Linked DNA regions of Homo sapiens: region 2 is linked to region 1. The links are contacts of gene promoters, found by promoter capture Hi-C in blood cells and fetal thymus (Javierre and others, 2016). All regions are on one chromosome and are shown on one strand. The core of a region is centred on a gene start or on the middle of the fragment in contact, and the rest is flanking DNA. Distances in the headings are between cores, read along the strand shown.

Region 1 (5,766 bases), core at 1,408-3,907:
TAAACACATATGTATATTTGTGTTGGGTATACACTATACCTAGGATAGGAACTGCTGGATCAGAGGGTTAAGCTTAAGTAAATACTGCTTATCCATTTTTCGAAAGTGTTTCTACCAATTTATATGCCCACACTCAGTGGATAAGAGTTCCAGATGCTTCATATTATCATCAACCCTCGGTATTTTCTTTTTCTTTTTCTTTTTCTTTTTCTTTTTTTTTTTTTTTTTGAGACAGAGTTTTGCTCTTGTTGCCCAGGCTGGAGTGCAATGGCTCACTACAACCTCCGCCTCCCAGGCTCAAGCGATTCTCCTGACTCAGCCTCCCAGGTAGCTGGGATTATAGGTGTGCACCACCACACCTGGCTAATTTTGTATTTTTAGTAGAGATGGGGTTTCACGATGTTGGTCAGGCTGGTCTCGAACTCCTGACCTCAAGTGATCCACCCGCCTCAGCCTCACACCTGCCTTGGCCTCCTAAAGTGCTGGGATTTACAGGTGTGAGCCACCGTGCCCAGCCAGCCCTTGGTATTTTCCATCTTCTGGTGCGTGTATAGTGGATCACGATGTGATTTGAATTTGCATTTCCCTGATGACTCACAGAGTTCAGTATGTTTCATACTTTTTTTTTTTTTGAGACAGAGTCTCGCTCTTTCGCCCAGGCTGGAGTGCAGTGGTGCAGTCTTGGCTCACTGCAACCTCCGCCTCCCAGGTTCAAGCAATTCTCCTGCCTCAGCCTCCGAGTAGCTGAGATTACAGGCACCCACCACAACACCCAGCTAGTTTTTGTATTTTTAGTAGAGATGGGGTTTCACCATGTTAGCCAGGCTGGTCTCAAACTCCTGACCTCAAGTGATCTGCCCGCCTTGGCCTCCCAAAGTGCTGGGATTACAGGCATGGGCCACCGCGCCCAGCCACATATGGTTTTAAGCTATTCAGATATTTCCTTTTATAAAGTGCCTAGTTCATGTACTAACCCATCTCAGTGGTCTTTTTAAAGTCTGTTGTAGGGCTGGGTGCGGTGGCTTACGCCTGTAATCCCAGCACTTTGGGAGGCCAAGGCGGGTGGATCACCTGAGGTCAGGAGTTCAAGACCAGCCTGGACAACATGGTGAAACCCCATCTCTACTAAAAATACAAAAAATTAGCTGGGCATGGTGGCGGGTGCCTGTAATCCCAGCTACTCAGGAGGCTGGGGCAGGAGAATCGCTTGAACCCAGGAGGCAGAGGTTGCAGTGAGCCGAGTGCCATTGCACTCCAGCCTGGGCAACAAGAGTGAAACTCCATCTCTAAATAAATAAATAAATGAATAAAAATAAAGTCTGTTATTCGTTTGGCTTTATTTTTGGTATACTTAACAAAAATTAGCTGGGTGTGGTGGCACATGCCTGTAATCCCAGCTACTGAAGCAGGAAAATCGCTGGAACCTGGGAGGCAAAGGTTGCAGTGAGCCAAGATTGTGCCACTGCACTCTAGCCTGGGCAACTCCATCTCAGAAAAAAAAAAAAAAAGGACTACTAAAAGAATGAAAAGGCAGGCCACAGAGTGACAGAGGTTATCTGCTTCTATGTATATTACAACGAAGGACTTGATTCCAAATTATCTATACATAAAACTCTTACAATAAGAAAAACATAGTGACCCAATACAAAAATAAGCAAACCAGTTGAACAGGCACTTCACACAAAAGAGGATATCCAAGTGGCTGATAAGCATGTAAAAAGATGCTCACAATGAACGGTCTTCAGGGAAATAAATGCAAATTAAAACCACATACCTAGGGGATTTGAAACAAGGCAGTTCTGTTAACCTCTCTTGCTGTATTTACTAATATGTAAATTGGAGATATTAATGCTTATGCTCAGGAATTTACAGTCTGAAGAAGGAATAAATGACACAACAGAAAACTGATAATTATGTATGGAAACACAGAATTATATACTAAAAGTCCAAGGTTAGAGACATAGTGGCCATATCTTTTACCCCTAAATCAACTCAAATCAAATCAAATCAAATCCTGAGCTCAAGCGATCCTCCCGCCTCGGCCTCCCACACAAGTACTGGGATGCCAGGCATGAGCCACTGCACCTGGCCAAAAAAAATATTAAAGAAAGAACGAAATTGGTAATCACAGCGCATCTCAAGGCAGGGAAACTAAAGGGCTGAGGCCAGATGGAAAATGTACTTATCACTGTGCTTATAAATAAAATATTTACATTTTAAAACAAACAAACAAAAAGTCCGCGCGGTCCTAGGTGAATCTGGCCGAGGCTTCTGCGTCAAGGACGGCGCGGGTCAGCTGAGGCCAAGACCGCAGGCACTGCCCTACCGCTCTCCAGATCACAGCTCCGCCTCTGCAAGGCCCCGGGGAAACGGGCATCCCTTCTTCAGTGAGCAAAGGAGAAAGACGGAGCCCGGTGGCTGGGTGTTTCGCCCAGGATCACCAGCGAGCTCAGAGTCCTCCCCACGACCGCCCCAGGGTGGGCATTTTTAAAAGCGGAGGAAGGGAGGGAACACACTCTTTGGTGCTGTGCCCACCTTGCCTCGCACAGAGCGGGCGCTCACAGGCTTTGGGGGCCCCGCCCGGACCGCAGTGGGGAGAGGCCGCCCCATGCCCCGCCCCGCCAAATTTAAGAGCCTTCGCCGAGCGCCAGGAGGTTCCCAGACAACCGGTCTTGCTCGCTGCCTTTTGCAGAATCTTCTCACTTCTCCCGAGCTCCCTTCCTTGCGTCCGTCCGGGCAACGGCCGCGTCATGCCTAGCCCCAGGCCGCGAGGCAGCCCGCCACCCGCTCCCTCGGGCTCTCGGGTCCGACCTCCGCGCTCTGGCCGCTCTCCGGCGCCCAGGTCCCCTACTGGCCCGAACACGCCCCGCGCTCCCGGACGCTTCGAGTCCCCTTTCTCGGTCGAGGCCATCCTGGCGAGGCCCGACCCCTGCGCGCCGGCGGCCTCCCAGCCGTCGGGCTCCGCCTGCGTCCACCCGGCCTTCTGGACCGCTGCTTCCCTGTGCGCCACCGGGGGTCTGCCCTGGGCTTGCCCGACATCGTGGCTGCCCGCCTACCTGAGCGTAGGTTTTTACCCTGTGCCAGGGCCGCGCGTGGCTCCCGTCTGCGGCCTGCTGGGCTTCGGCGTCACAGGTACTGCGGTCCCGGCGCCCGCACGCGGGGGACTGGGCGGGGGCTGGAGAGCCTAGGTCGCCACTGCCGGCGCCCCAGTGCAGGAGAGGGCACTGAGTGTGAGAATCACACACGGCTGGAGTGGGAAGGGGCTCTGCCACCGTTTACCTTGCAGTTGAAGCCGAGGACCGCGACAGTCTTGCTGAAAAAGACCCCGGCGCGAGGCTTCCCCCGCACGCTGCTGAGGTGGGAGAGGGTGGGTGTGAGGGCGGCGCAGCGCCTGAATGCGGTGGGCAGGAGGCCAGCGCTGGGGCTGCAAGGGGACCCAGCCCTGCTCCCGGTCTCCGCGTCCCTTGACTCCCTCGCACACCCCGGGGTAGCGCTTAGTGACAGAGACGCTTCCCAAAGCGGCTCTCGACCCGAACCAATGGCCCTGTTTTTTTTTTTTACGGGGTAGGGGGAAGTGGACGCTCCGGGCGGTGCTGTTGAGCGAGGAGCTGTTAGGAGCTGGTCAAGGCTCACACCCCACTACCGCCTCCACTGCTCACGTCTGTGAACTTGAGCTACACACTTCGCTCTGAGCCTGCGTGCATGCAATGCTCTTAAGTAGTGCTTAAGGGCCAGGCACTTAAATCTCATGAGAAAGTAATTGTAAGGTTGGGCGCGGTGGCTCACGCCTGTAATTTCAGCACTTTGGAAGACCGAGGCGGGTGGATCACCTGAAGTCAGGAGTTCAAGGCCAGCCTGGCCAACATGGTGAAACCACATCTTTACTTAAAAGACAAAAAATTGGCCGGGCGCGGTGGCTCACGCCTGTAATCCCAGCACTTTGGGAGGCCGAGACGGGCGGATCACGAGGTCAGGAGATCGAGACCATCCTGGCTAACACGGTGAAACCCCGTCTCTACTAAAAATACAAAAATTAGCCGGGCATGGTGGCGCGTGCCTGTAGTCCCAGCTACACAGGAGGCTGAGGCAGGAGAATGGCGTGAACCCGGGAGGCGGAGCTTGCAGTGAGTCGAGATCGCGCCACTGCACTCCAGCCTGGGCGACAGAGCGAAACTCCGTCTCAAAAAAAAAAAAAAAAAAAAAGACAAAAAATTAGGAGGGCGTGGTGGCGCGCGCTTGTAATCCCAGCTACTCAGGAGGCTAAAGCAGGAGAATCACTTGAACCCGGGAGGTTGAGGTTGCATTAAGCCGAGATTGCGCCACTGCACTCTAGCCTGGGCAACAGAGTGAGACTCCGTCTCAAACAAACAAATCAACAAAAAAAAGTAACTATAGAGGGAACTTTGCCTTCTAGCATTAAACATCCACCTACACGTGCTTTTGCCATTTTTGGTTGCCAGGTTCATGTTTCCCCATGTCCCCACGAAGAAAACAGGAGCAAAGTTAGTCCAAGCCTTATCAACCCATACAAAGATAGTTGTAACACAGTCTTGCCGGGTTCCTACTCCGTGGCACCCACCCCAATCCTGCATTTCCTCACCCCATTTCAGCAGTGCATTAACCCTTGGACTCGCAGCCCCATCTAAATTCAATACCACTGGATCTGGGAGCTGTGCCCATCACTCCCAGTCACCTTTCTCTGAGCTCTTCACACACCTGAGGTCTGAATTACAGTTTACTACTTCATGTTACAGTTGCCTCATTTTCAAGTTAGTTGTTTTCTTTTGTTCTGTTTTGTTTTGTTTTGAGACGGAGTCTCACTCTGTCTCCCAGGCTGGAGTGCAGTGGCGCTATCTCTGCTCACTACAACCTCCTCCTTCCGGTCTCAAGTGATTCTCCTGCCTTAGCCTCTGGAGTGGCTGGAATTACAAGCCCCAGCACCATGCCCGGCTAATTTTTTTTATTTTTTTATTTTTTTTTTTTGAGGCGGAGTCTTGCTCTGTCCTTAGGCTGGAGTGCAGTGGTGCAATCTCGGCTCACTGCAAGCTCCGCCTCCCGGGTTCACGCCATTCTCCTGCCTCAGCCTCCCGAGTAGCTGGTACTGCAGGCACATGCCGCCACACCTGGCTAATTTTTTGTATTTTTAGTAGAGACGGGGTTTCACCATGTTAGCCAGGATGGTCTTGATCTCCTGACCTCGTGATGTATTTCTTTTTCTGTGAACTACTGTTCTTGTATTTTGCCCATATGTATAGTTGGTTATTTAAAACAATCTATTTGTAGATGCTCTTTTCTATTGAGGAAATTAGCCCTGGCTGGGTGCAGTGGCTCACCCCTGTAACTCCCTCACTTTGGGAGGCCAAGGCGGGTGGACTACTTCAGCTCAGGAGTTGAGACCAGCCTGGGCAACATGGCAAAACCCCGTCTCTACTAAAAACACAAAAATTAGCTGGGCATGGTGGTGCGCACCTTGGCGGGGGCTGAAGTGGGAGGATTGCTTGTGCCTGGGAGGCAGAGGTTGCAGTGAGCCGAGGTCAAGCCACTGAACTCCAGCCTGGGCAACAGAACAAGACACTGTCTCAAAAAATTAAAAAAGAAATTAGCCCTTTAACTGTAATGAACTACAAATGTTTTTCTGTGTATTGGCCTTTGACTTTGATTATGGCGGTATTCTTTTGTTACATAGAAAAAATTTTAATTTTTATGTTTGATGTGTTTTTACAAATCCTTTTTTTTTTCTTTTTTGAGACAGGTTCTCTGTCACTC
Region 2 (5,763 bases), core at 1,069-3,568, 220 kb before region 1:
TCCAGGTAGCTACAGAATCTGGCCACCACTGTCATCAGGGTGAGGTTCTGCCACGAGTGACTCATCTCAAACCTTTTGTGCCAAAGCACTCATTTGATCATTGAATAAACCCACATTGAGCACTGACTGTGTGCCAGGCACCGAGGGGGCTGAGTGTGGTGGTAGATGAGATCCAGTCCCTGCCTTGGGGCACTCAATGTCTAATGGGGGAGGCAGGCTTGGAAACAACACGGGCAGTCCCCAGATAGACATCGGCACACACAGGTAGCTGCCATCTAACCCTGGCTGGGACTCCCAGCGAGGGCTTCCAAGAGGAGATGGTGTTTGAGCAGAGTCACAAAGGCCTGGTAGTCGAGGGAGGGCAGAGGGTGCTTGAGGTAGTGGGAAGAGCAGGTATCCAGACATCAGGGCCACATGCAAAGGCCTGGGGCCCGGCAAGAGGGAGGAGAGGAGGACGGCAGCGTTCTCCAGGGCTGCAGTGGGGCACAGGAGAGGCAAGAGCAGGCCAGGTCAAAGAAGGGACTCATGGCATCCAGAGGTGCCTGAAGGGCATGAATGCCACGTGAAGCACCACTGACCTTGATGGATGGACCTTGATGTCACAGGGCCCAGGACAAGCTGCCACAGGTGCACACTGCTGCCTCCTGCTCACAGGGGATGAGGCCTGGGGAGCTGTGCTCTGACCTGGGGGTAGGCCCTCCAGACTTGGGCAGCACTGCCATGGCCACTCCTAGACGGAGGAAGCAGGGTGGACTGAGCACAAAGGGGGAGCAGTGGAGCAAAGAGGGGTTCAATGACATGAAGACCCGTGTGGCCTTGGGGAGAAGGGGGCATGGACGTCAGGGAACAGGTTTGCCACACCTGTGAATGAACAGAAGACCTTCTCCCAAATAGTGCCAGGACACCCTGGGCAACGGACTCATTGGTTAACACCGAGATCTTTTCATGGCAATAAAATAAATCCTGACATTTAACATAGGAGACTGCTGGGGACGGCACAGGAAGAAGTCATTTCTCAGCAAGGAGCTGCTGAGGCTGGCATTTCCGGTGCCTGCAGGAAGCTTGTTCTCCTTGGAAGGAGCAGCTGGCTGATGCCAAAGCTCAGGCCTTCCTCATGAGGAGCTCAGGGCCTAGCTGGGGGTCTTGATGAGCACATGACACTCACTGCCTGTTCCCTGCTCTGAGTGGATGCAGCCAGGCAGCCTGGGGTGACCTTCAGGGCTTCCTGCCCTCCCCATGCACACACCTACCCGGAGTCCAGAGGGCCAGCTTTATAGATGTGCTTGCTGAGACAACACCTCTGTCTCCACCTCCCTAAGGCCCCTGCCCCACCCATTGCTGTCAACGAGATGTCTATTCCCCTGGCCACTGCCACCTCTGGGACCCAGGACTTGGCCCTCCTTCCTGCTGGTAACTGCTCCTGGTACCCCTCCTCCAAGGCCCCTTGAGAAGCCTGTGGGGCCGGCAACCCCTGGAACAGACTCTGCTCACAGAGACTGGTGGCTAGAGCTGGGGGTGTGTATTTTTCCAATGCCTCCTCTACTGACCTTTAATTACACTGTTTGCCCAGCTTCCCAAACCATTAACTTCACCTGGCAGCAACCATACGTCAATTAACGGAGGGCCCGCTCCGAGCTTGAGCTCCTGAACACAATTAGGCGTGACAGTCCACAAATAAGAAAGAACTGGAGAATTAATTAAGGTCTAAGCAAATTAATTACCAGTCCCCAATCGATTCCGATGCCAGCACACATGCTCCTGGGCTCACTGTCTTTCCTAACATCTCCATGTATAAATAGAAACTGAGATCTCCCACACGATTGCTGTTCTAGACCAGGGACACAGCATGGCCCTGAAACCACCTCTCTCCAAGGGGAGAGAAATGGCTGCAGTGAGCATCCCAGGGCTTCCCACATACTCAGCACATGTGCCTGCACATGCATCAGTCACGTGACACAGGCGTGTGCACACACACACTCTGAAAAACTAGGGGGGAACTTGGAGGCAGAACAGGGAGGACACCGCGTAGCCTTGGCTGCCTCCAGGCCACACTGCTCAGTTTCTCAGCTATATGGGTGAGGGGTTATCTCACAGGGCTTGAAATAGCCCTGGGCTGGGCCTGGGAGGCCTGGGAGGCCTGGGCTCTGGCCAGCTCAGTATCACTTTTAGCAAGTCTGACTTTGTTCATTCTTCTGTAAGAGGGTGATGGCTTGCTCTGCCTTCGGACCCTCCCAGCACAGAATGAGGAGAACCGAGGGAGGAGAGAGGCTTGCTAGGGAATATGAGGGGAGCCGTGCAGCCCCCAGGAGCTCTGCAAACCTCAAGGAGGCCTGCAGTCACAGAGGTCCTGGTGGGAAGGGGCTGAAGGAGGGTCTCGTCAGAGGCCTCGTTTCCAGATGAGGAGACAGCGGGTAGAATGGGGTGGGAATGGTGGAGTTTGGTGTGGGGTCCAGGTGCGTGTGTCTCAGGCCACTCTTAGGCAGTGTGTAGCCCACCTCCCAGGCTTCAGGCTGGGGCCTGCAGAGGAGCTGGCAGAGCCTTGGGAAGAAGAAACTGACTCTTGGGGATTCCTTGTTCCCCAGAGCTTGAGTTCCCAACCTGCTCAGAAGTGTGAGAGCCTGGATGCGGCCTCTGACCACAGGGCACAAGCCTCTTCAGGACCCCCATCACCCTGAAGACCCCCTTCCACTCCACTCACATCCCAACAACAGAGCTTAAATATGATCACTGCCACTTTCCCCAACCTCCTTCCCATGTGCAGTCACTGCTCAGTGAGTCCTGTCTCTGCAAGCAGCCTAAAGGGACAGGGGACCCTCCACAAGGTCAAGCACAGCCTGAGCCAGCTTCTTGGTCACCTTTAACAGTGGCCCAGCCAGGTCTGGCCTAGCCTACCTCGGAGACCTGCAGTGAACCCCGGGCAGGACCTAGGCCCTGCCAGCACCTGGTGCAGCTTAGGGATACTCTGGCCAGGGGTACCTGGGGATAAGGTGAAGAGAGGCCAAGTACAGGGACTGGACGGTGGCCTGAGAGGACCAGGGGGCTTTTGAGTCCCTGGTGGGAAAGGGCCACACCTAATCATCTCAAAACTGTGTCAGCATGGACTAGGGCAGTCCGCAAGTGTCCACTTGCAGATGAGAGCGATGGACATAGGGACTAGAGAGATGGAAGCCTGTGGGGGGGTGGGAGGGGAGACTGGGGCTGGGGCAGAAGGCAGGCAGGTACCCAGCCAGGACTCAGCAGCCAGGCCAGAGGAAGAAGCCACAAAGGGCCTGCCTCTCCCTGGATCCCGCAAGCAAGGACTGTCAGGGCTTAAACCACATTATGCAACCCGTGAGGGATGTTCAGGATCTCAAGACAACAGTGGCTGCACCTGTGTGAGCGGCTGAAGCCTCATTCCCAAAAAGAAGAGGGGAGGGGAATTACACTGGAGTCTGAAGAGGGGCAGGTCAGAAAGTCTCAGACCCAAAGCAGGGACTCTCCTCCTGAAAGAGTCCCAGAGAGGTTAAGACCACCTCAAGGTGACACAGCAAGATGGCCAGTAGGGCTGGAATGGGCCCCCGGCAAAGTTCTTATCTAAAGCTTGGCTAGGGACAGATTACATCTTGGCCGAATCCCAGATCCAGCCCAGTGCAGCAGAGCGCTGCCCCTTCTCAGGCTGCATCTGACCCTGCAGCTGAATGGCCGGGAACACCAGTTGGGCAGCCGTGTTTGCTTTATTAGGCCCCTTAACGAAGTCAGATCTAAAGGGTTATTCCATTAATGGCCCACGACAGAAATAGCTGAAAGTTCATTAAAAGTGTGGAGTTGCTATAGCAATTATCTGGGCTGGCTGAGGCTGAGCCAGGTGGCTGGTTCTCGGAATTCATTAGTCTCTGGGTCATCCAGAGGTGGGGCTGCCCAGCAATGACCTCTCACCCTCTCACAGGGCTTTGCAGGTGCTTCAAAGCACCCTCCTCTCAGTGGAAACTGGTTTGTGGCCTCACTTGCTCCTCCCAGAGCTCTGGGCTGTAGGAAGGTGGGTACTGGTACCCGCCTTTTACAGATGGAGAAGCAGGGCCCTGTAGATGACGATCAGGGTCAGGACCATGAGCCTGGGTCTGACTCCAGCTCTTCAGATGGTGCCTTGGTACCACAGAGGTCACGAGTCCTCATGCCCTGTGCTGGCCTGTCCCCATCGTTGTCCTTTGGCACAGATGGGGAGCTCTGCTGTTATGGTTCAAGGACTGGTTTATCCTTCTCTTTTGACAGCTATGCACTGCCTTACACTGCTCTCAATACTGTTTATTTCTTTTTAGTTTTAAAAACTCCTTCCACTATTTTGCCCTTCTCCCCAAACAAGGTGTAGGCTTCTTAAGGGCCAAGCAGAGTTTTGTGGCATCTCCAGGGCCCCAGCCTGGGGCATCTATGGTGAGCTCATAGACTCCAAGTTCAGCAAAGACGCAGCTGAAATCCCCTCCACATATACCTGTGCGCCCACAATCACCTGCGTAGAGCCAAGGCCTCTGAAACCTAGAGGCTCACAATACCCAAAGGCTTGAAACCTAGACTAGCAGAAGCTTGCAGGCTTCTTTTGTACCACGAACCACTCTGGTAGTCTAGTGAGGCCTATGGACCCCTCTCAGAATAATGTTTCTAAATGCATAAAACAAAACACATAGGATCACAAAGGGATCATCCTGAAATTACCAAAATATTGTGATATAGTAATAGATGTTTTTTGGGGTTTTTTTTGTTTTGTTTTGTTTTTGAGACGGAGTCTCACTCTGTCACCAGGCTGGAGTGCGTGATCTTGGCTCACTGCAACCTCCAACTCCCTGGTTCAAGCCATTCTCCTGCCTCGGCCTGAGTAGCTGGGATTACAGGCATGCACCACCACACCCAGCTAATTTTTCTATGTTTAGTAGAGATGGGGTTTCACCATGTTGGCAAGGATGGTCTTGATCTCCTGACCTCATGATCCGCCTACCTCGGCCTCCCAAAGTGCTGGGATTACAGGCATGAGCTACCACACCCAGCCTAGATGTGCTTTTTAACTAATGAATTAAAAACAAGATCTATCAGTTGATGTATTAAATATGAATTAGTGACCGGGCATGGTGGCTCACGTCTGTAATCCCAGCACTTTGGGAGGGTGAGGCAGGTGGATCATGAGGTTAGGAGTTCGAGACCAGCCTGGCCAACATGGTGAAACCCCATCTCTACTAAAAATGCAAAATTAGATGGGCATGGTGGCGCATGCCTGTAATCCCAGCTACTTGGGAGCCTGAGGCAGGAGAATTGCTTGAAGCTGGGAGGTGGAGGTTGCAGTGAGCCGAGATTGCACCACCATACTCCAGCCTGAGTGACAAGAGTGAAACTCTGACTCAAAGAAAAACAAAGAAAAAGAAAAAAGAAAGAAAATATGAATTAGTGTTGAGCATAAATAATATTTTAAGACCTCTGTAACAACTGTAATGTGCCATGAAAACATCTGTGATTTCTACTGGTGACAAAGTCACAGGTCCTGCTTCTGACTGTGGTTTGCTGCCTGCATTCGTAACGGAAGGAAATGTTAAAATGCAGTTAGAGGTTAATGTAAATCTTTTCCCTGACCAAGCTCACAGGATCCGCTGCATTCTGTCTACTGACCCCTTGGGGGTCTGGGACTGCAGCCTAAGAACCCCTATGCTGAAAGCAGAATCTCAGCACAGAGCTGGTCAGTGGGACCCCATGGTCTTGTCTTTTAGCTAAACATATTACACCAATTCTCCCAGCTGGGTGCCC

Evidence for each region. Contacts are between HindIII fragments. The CHiCAGO score rates a contact against its expected background, and 5 or more counts as called.
Region 2: a contact is called between a fragment that was not itself captured here and the fragment with the promoter of NOTO in region 1, in 2 of 17 cell types (naive CD8 T cells and total B cells). The highest score is 5.8, in naive CD8 T cells.

Annotation. Positions count from the first base shown.
Region 1 is chr2:73,199,917-73,205,682 of GRCh38, forward strand. NOTO (notochord homeobox) reads left to right here and starts at 2,658. Exons shown (of 3, transcript NM_001134462.2): 1 at 2,658-3,132. The coding sequence starts at 2,751. RefSeq lists an enhancer at 3,501-4,052. The HindIII fragment of the contact is 10,291 bases long and covers 71-5,766 here.
Region 2 is chr2:72,982,391-72,988,153 of GRCh38, forward strand. The region is part of intron 10 of SFXN5 (sideroflexin 5); the gene reads right to left. Among named protein-coding and RNA genes, the nearest start is that of EMX1, 68 kb to the left of the region's middle. RefSeq lists an enhancer at 99-599. The HindIII fragment of the contact is 2,518 bases long and covers 1,060-3,577 here.